Linked DNA regions of Homo sapiens: region 1 is linked to region 2. The links are contacts of gene promoters, found by promoter capture Hi-C in human tissues and cell types (Jung and others, 2019). All regions are on one chromosome and are shown on one strand. Each heading gives the region's core, a stretch centred on a gene start or on the middle of the fragment in contact. The rest is flanking DNA. Distances are from core to core; before and after follow the strand shown.

Region 1 (3,517 bases), core at 134-2,633, 650 kb before region 2:
CTGGCACATAATAAGCACTCAATAAGTGTTAGCCATTGCTCTGGTTTTGATCCCCTTTTATGATGTTTTAAACTTACATTAAAGAAAAAAACTCAGTGTTCTGGTTAAACACACTATGGTACATCTACACCATACCAATATAACTTGAGAATTTAGGCCAGGCGCGGTGGCTCACACCTGTAATCCCAGCACTTTGGGAGGCCGAGGCGGGCGGATCACGAGGTCAGGAGATCAAAACCATCTTGGCTAACACGGTGAAACCCCGTCTCTACTAAGAATACAAAAAATTAGCCGGGCGGGTAGTCCCAGTTACTCGGGAAGCTGAGGCAGGAGAATGGCATGAACCCGGGAGGCAGAGCTTGCAGTGAGCCGAGATAGCACCACTGCAGTCCGGCCTGGGCAAAAGAGCGAGACTCCATCTCGAGAAAAAAAAAAAGAATTTAAAACATAACTGACACTTGCAACTTGGATAGACTGCAAGAGCATTATGCTGAATGAAAAAAAAATCCAAAAAGCTAAAATATTAAATAATTACATTTCTAACTCTCAAAATGACAAAATCATACTAATGTAGAACAGATAGGTGGTTGCTAGGTTTACAGGAGGGTGTAACTATGAGGAGCTAATAATAAAAGGCAATTTCTTTGGGATTAATTTCTTAGAACTATCTACAAAAAAAAAGTGCATCTAACATAAAACCTGGTAAAATCCAAATCAAATCTATAGTTTAACTTTAGTATTATACTAACATCAATTTAATGGTGGGCTGGGCACGGTGGCTAACATCTATAATTAGCCTGGGCAACATAGGGAGACCCCATCTCTACAAGGAATAAAAAAATTAGATGGGCATAGTGGTCCATGCCTGTAGTCCCAACTACTGTCAGGAGTCTGAGGTGAGAGGATCAATTGAGCCCAGGAGTTCGAGGCTGCAGTGAGCTTTTTTGGGGAGTGAGGAATGGAGTCTTGCTCTGTCACCCAGGCTGGAGTATAGTGGCACAATCCCAACTCACTGCAACCTCTACCTCCCAAGTTCAGGCGATCTCCTGCCTCAGCCTCTCAAGTAGCTGGGATTACAGACACCTGCCAACACGCCCAGCTAATTTTTGTATTTTAGTAGAGATGGAGTTTCCCCATGTTGACCAGGCTGGTCTCCAACTCCTGACCTCAAGCAATCCACCCATCTCGGCCTCCCAAAGTGGTGGAATTATAGGCGTGAACCACCATGCCAGCCTGCAGTGAGCTTTGATCAAGACACAGCACTCCAGCCTATGTAACAGAGACCCAGTCTCTACGAAAAAAACAAATTTGATGGTTTTGATCACTGTACTGTTTTCATTGGGAAACCATTATTTTTGCAACTTCTAAGTGAGTCTAAAATTATTTCAAAATGATTAGTTTAAAAAAACAAATACCAGGAGAAAAAAGAAAGAAAATTCCATCCATAGTACTCTGCTTATGCTAAGAAAGAAGTTAGATAAACACTGGGAGTTGATGGAAGTGAACAAATATCTAACAGGTAAACAAATTTATCATGAGTTTCAAAATATGTGGGAGACTTTCTGAAAAATATTTGCACCATTTGTTATTACTAATGACATTATATAACCATACAAATTGTCAGATTACTAAATTTCAAATCTGGTAGCAAGCATTCAAAAAACATAATAATATCTGTATTACACTTTTATTGGATTTTTGAGAGGAAAGTAACAGTATTCAATAAATCCCATATATTCTCACTATATATGCCAAGTACCTAGGAGAATTGTAATATGCCATATTACTGGACTATGAGAATGAGGATACATCATTCACTTGCAGCTCAGAGCAAAATATTACCCAAATTCACACTTGAAATGCCAATGATTCCCTAGGAGGACTCACAGGACACAGCATAGTCATCTTCATGGCTATGAAGGATGGCTACGATAAAAGGATGAAAAGCATAATCAGGAAAGGGAAAAGGTGCATGATGGGATATCTGAAGAAAACCAGACACAAGCTTAGAAGACAAAGGAGTGGTACAGAGGTTAAGAAGAGGAGGAATCCGGCTGGGTGCGGTGGCTCATGCCTGTAATCCCAGCACTTTGGGAGGCCGAGGCAGGCAGATCACGAGGTCAGGAGATCGAGACCATCCTGGCTAACACGGTGAAACCCCATCTCTACTAAAAATACAAAAAATTAGCCGGGTGTGGTGGCGGGTGCCTGTAGTCCCAGCTACTCGGGAGGCTGAGGCAGGAGAACGGCATGAACCAGGAGGTGGAGCTTGCAGTGAGCCAAGATCACGCCACTGCACTTCAGCCTGGGTGACAGAGTGAGACTCCATCTCCAAAAAAAAGAAAAAGAAGAGGAATCTACCAGAAGCTTAACAGGGGCATTCACTGAGATCAAAACAAAGCCAGAAGTGAGTTATCTCGAAGGAAGTGGAAAAAAAAAATGTATCTAGAAAAAGGGAGTGACCAACTGTATCAAGTGCTCCTGATACACCATAAAGGATGAAGACTTGGAGGCATAAGCTCTATTGGGAGACATAGCTAAGGACAGAAATTAGTAGTAACCAACCAAAGAGTAAGTGATCCTCTGCTCACTCCTGCATCAGCCGGTTCAAAAGTCTCAAGGAGAGAAAATAAGAAAGTAAGAACTATACAACACTCAAAGGGGGTCTTACCTTTGCCTAACACAGACAGAAAAGAAAACTTCATGGGGCCTGCCTAGAGAACATACTAAACCAAGTAAAGGAGAAAGAGAAGAGATTTTTCTGTCAATGATAATGAATGATACATTTTTAAAAAGTCAAAATCCTCAGATAAGTGACCACAAGAGACAAAGCTGGAGTTTGAATATAAATACTGCATCAAGTCAAAGTAGCTATCCTATGAAAATGGCCTTAAAAACCTGTGAGTCAATAAATTTTTTCAGCTTGCTAGAATGAATACAAAAAATCCTCCAATATTATGATCTAGTGGGCTGTTAAAATAAAAAAGACAAAAAAAGAATCAAAAGAATCCTCCAATATGAAAGAACTTTCCAACAATGTCTACAAATAGGAATGCCTATAGAAGACATTCATTTCTCATTAACTTGTTTTTTTGTTTTGTTTTGTTTTTTGTTTTTGTTTTTGAGACAGAGTTTCACTCTTGTTGCCCAGGCTGGAGTGCAATGGCACAATCTCAGCTCACCGCAACCTCCACTTCCTGGGTTCAAGCAATTCTCCTGCCTCAGCCTCCTGAATAGCTGGTATTACAGGCATGCGCCACCACGCCCAGCTAATTTTGTATTTTTAGTAGAGACGGGGTTTCTCCATGTTGGTCAGGCTGGTCTTGAACTCCTGAACTTAGGTGATCCGCCGACCTCAGCCTCCCAAAGTGCTGGGATTACAGGCATGAGCCACCACACCTGGCCTCATTTCTCATTAACTTCTAACCGAAAATTAGAAATCTACTTGTACTGACAAAATAACAAAGGCATCATTTACATCCTTCTTGGCAAGGCACAGTGGTTCATGTCTGTAATG
Region 2 (3,693 bases), core at 735-3,234:
CTTAGTAGAGATGGGGTTTCACCATGTTGGCCAGGATGGTCTTCATGTCTTGACCTCGTGATCCGCCCACCTCGGCCCCCAAAGTGTTGGGATTATAGGCGTGAGCCACTGTGCCCAGCCTATTTTTCTAATTTTTAAAAACTCTATCAAATAACAACAATGTTTTGAATTCTCCCATACTGTCAGTATGGTATGGGGAAAATAAAATAGGAATAGAAAAGGAAAACCAGGAAAAGAGGTGGTTTTCAACCAAATGAGGATTGGACAAAAAGAAAAAAAGAGAAAGAGAAAGAAAGAAGCGTCACAAACAAATCTGGCATTACTTCGTATTTAAAATCTTATGAAGAGTAAGGAGAATGTTGATGGGTGTGAATGAAATAGTGAGAATCAATTTAAAGAATATTCATTAGGCGCCCTACAGTGTGCCTGAAAATGTAGTGTGCACAGTGTATAAAATAAGAAATTGCTTCCTTAAAGTGGCTTATGTCTGGTTATAAAAATAAGATGAATGCAAAACCAGCTAGCAATGCTAGCTTTATGTAGCTTCACTCTGAGCCAGACATCATGTATTAGAAAACAAGGATAAGTAATAACAGCTCATGTTTAAAAGGGCTATGTGCCAGGTCCTATGCTGACCACTTTTCATAGATTATCTCAATTAATCTTCACATTAATCTTATGAGTAGATACTGTTGTCCCCATTTTTTCCAATGGGTATATTGAGACTTAAAAAGTTAAAATAACTTGCCCATTGTCAAATAACTGACCATGGAATTTGAACCAAAGTCATTTAATTCAAAATGAAGAAATTTAATCACGTAAACTACTGCTTCCCATAATTCTCAGCCTTGAGGAACTCAGTCTATGAAGGAATGATGGGTGCTTAATGACCATTTGTTGTATGAATGAATGACGTTCTTTGTGGCCGCTCATGTTTATTGTTTAGCTTTTTTTTTTTTTTTTTTTGAGATGGAGTTTCGCTCTTGTTGTTCAGGCTGGAGTGCAGTTGCATGATCTAGGCTCACTGCAACCGCTGCCTCTCGGGTTCAAGCAGTTCTCCTGCCTCTGCCTCCCGAGTAGCTGGGACTACAGGCGCACGCCACCACGCCCAGCTAATTTTTGTATTTTTAGTAGAGACGGGGTTTCACCCATGTTGGCCAGGCTGGTCTCGAACTCCTGACCTCAGGTGATCCGCCCGCCTCGGCCTTCCAAAGTGCTGGGATTACAGTCGTTACCACTGCGCCTGACCTAGACTGTTCAGGTTTAAGTTCCTAGGATACAAATATAAAACAGACTAGGGCCGATACTTTGCTGTTTTCAACACAGAAGTGGAAAGCATGATTTTACACTTCTGGAATAATTTAGAGTGACATCTGGTGGTTGCCTGTGAGACAAGAATTGTTGAAGAAACTGAATTTAAAAGCCTATAATAAATAAGACTACCAGACATAAAAAGATAAGAACGATGAATTAAAGTAGTAAAAAGTTTAAAAAACATATCTTAAATCCTCACTAAAGAAAAATTTTAAAAAATGCTAGTTGCAGATTTTCAATCCACTGGACTTTAAAAAGAAACAATAGATTCCTTAATGAGTAGTTGTAACGAAAATTGTAACAGTTAATTGATGGCAGGAAATACGAATTGATTTATACTGGTTTGAAGATTCTGGCTTGAGAGGAAATGCAACTTTACGGGGGAAGAAGACTCAAACGTTACAGGAACAATTTATTCACAAGGCAAAATATCTTCAACGTCTCTCCAAAACTTCAAGGGCATTATGGGTATCTGCCGAGATGGTAAAATGTCCAGTGGGCAGGAAATATTTCACCGGATCTCACTTGCCGGGGAAAAAAGCCAGTGAACGCGACCCACGCAGCTGACTAGATCGTGCGCTCGGCCTCAGATTGGTCGAGCCTGTTTGGGCTGCGGAAAAAGCGGAAGCGCGCTTTTCAAAGTCGTCCCACCATCAATGAAGGCAGGCCACTTCCGGCGTAGCCATGGCGGCTAACGCTACTACCAACCCGTCGCAGCTGCTGCCCTTAGGTAATCGCCGTCCTTTGGGGAGCAGGAACAGGGAGCTGACATTCAGGATTGGGGGCCGAGGGGCTGTTCCGAGGCAGGCCCTGGCCGAGTGTGGGGAAATGTATAAGACCAAATGCGGTTCGACTCTGAGCTCCAAGTCTTCGCGACAGCAGGCCGCACCTGCTCTTTAACGTGGTCGGGCTCCTCCAGGCAAGGACTTTGACTTCTCAAACCAGACCTTCACTGGAAAAGGTCCACATTTAGTGAACGCGTCGTCGGCCTACTTTGTTGTGAGCCCGCCTCTGCAGTGTTATAGGTAGTAGGCCTACTTCTCAGCCTGGCGTTTACGATCCCCAGATTAGATAGACCATGTTATGTATGTGGTTGGTTAGTGACACTAACACCCTGGTCCGGAATGAGCCTTAAATGAGGAATCTGGAAACCAGCTCTGTTTGTTATTTATTCATTCAATAAGTAGTAACTGAGTATCTATACACTAGATACCGTGCCTGGGCATTTTTCAATGATAAACCATAGCCATTGCCTTCAAATAGCACACAAGCCAGTGGAGGAGAGAACACTGGACAAGTAGACATCATGCCACATAATGCTAGGCTAGCTAAAGAGATGTTCAAGCTACCGTCAGAGCACAGAGGATAGACAGAGTTGGGAAAGGGAAGCAGTGACCGGAGAGTTTCCGGTGAATATAATTATACCTATCTCCTCTTATATTTTTGTAGTTGGTGAAGAGTGATTGAACTAGTGGTCGTGGCCGTGATTGAAAAGTTTTCATTCCTTCATGCCACAGACTCTTTTGGAAGGCTCATTATGTGCCAGATGCTGTGCTTGAACTGAGATTTGTATTATAAGACCTAAAGTTATTGAATGAATGTTTTTCCTGGTTTTTCTTTCACTATATGCAAGTAAGAGTGCCAGTAGGCACTCAAATATTTGTTGAAATAATGAATGGTAAAATAATATTTTTTCCCTCCTCAGAGCTTGTGGACAAATGTATAGGATCAAGAATTCACATCGTGATGAAGAGTGATAAGGAAATTGTTGGTACTCTTCTAGGATTTGATGACTTTGTCAGTATCCTTTTAAAAGGTGGTGGTGGTATAGGTTTTTCTTAAGTAATAACATAAGAACTATAGACAATCAGTATATTTGTGATTATTATAATAAAAATCAGTTCATTCTCAGGGAACTTATGATAATGTTTTAAGAGGTATGTATTGAAAGACGGTAAAGTTCCTATCAACAACAAGCATTTTGAATTTGAGCCATTGTATTAAACATTGTAATTAAAACTGAACAGGCGAGCCCAGTGGCTCACGCCTATAATCCCAGCGCTTTGGGAGGGCGAGGTGGGTGGATCGCTTGAGCCCAGGAGTTTGAGACCAGCCTGGGCAAGATGATGAAACCCTGTCTCCACAAAAATTACAAAAATTAGCTGGGCATGGTGATGTACACCTGTGGGTCCAGCTAATCTCCGGGGCTAAGGCAGGAGGATCCTTTAAGCCTAAAAGGTGGAGGCTGCAGTGAGGTGTGATTGTACCACTGCACTTAAGCCTGGATGACAGAGCGAGACTTTGTCTCAAAACAAAAACAAAAACAAAAAACAAAAGCTGAACAAAGGCAGAAGCTAGAGTAAATTCTGTATTTATTTT

Evidence for each region. The method cuts DNA at HindIII sites, captures the fragments that hold promoters and counts their contacts. A contact is called where the count stands out against the background at its distance.
Region 1: a contact is called between a fragment that was not itself captured here and the fragment with the promoter of LSM5 in region 2, in 1 of the 25 tissues and cell types used here (spleen).

Annotation. Positions count from the first base shown.
Region 1 is chr7:33,138,859-33,142,375 of GRCh38, reverse strand. The region is part of intron 1 of BBS9 (Bardet-Biedl syndrome 9); the gene reads right to left. Among named protein-coding and RNA genes, the nearest start is that of BBS9, 11 kb to the right of the region's middle. The HindIII fragment of the contact is 3,484 bases long and covers 1-3,125 here.
Region 2 is chr7:32,488,671-32,492,363 of GRCh38, reverse strand. LSM5 (LSM5 homolog, U6 small nuclear RNA and mRNA degradation associated) reads left to right here and starts at 1,984. Exons shown (of 5, transcript NM_012322.3): 1 at 1,984-2,044; 2 at 3,020-3,115. The coding sequence starts at 1,999. RefSeq lists an enhancer at 2,032-2,081. The HindIII fragment of the contact is 28,883 bases long and covers 1-3,693 here.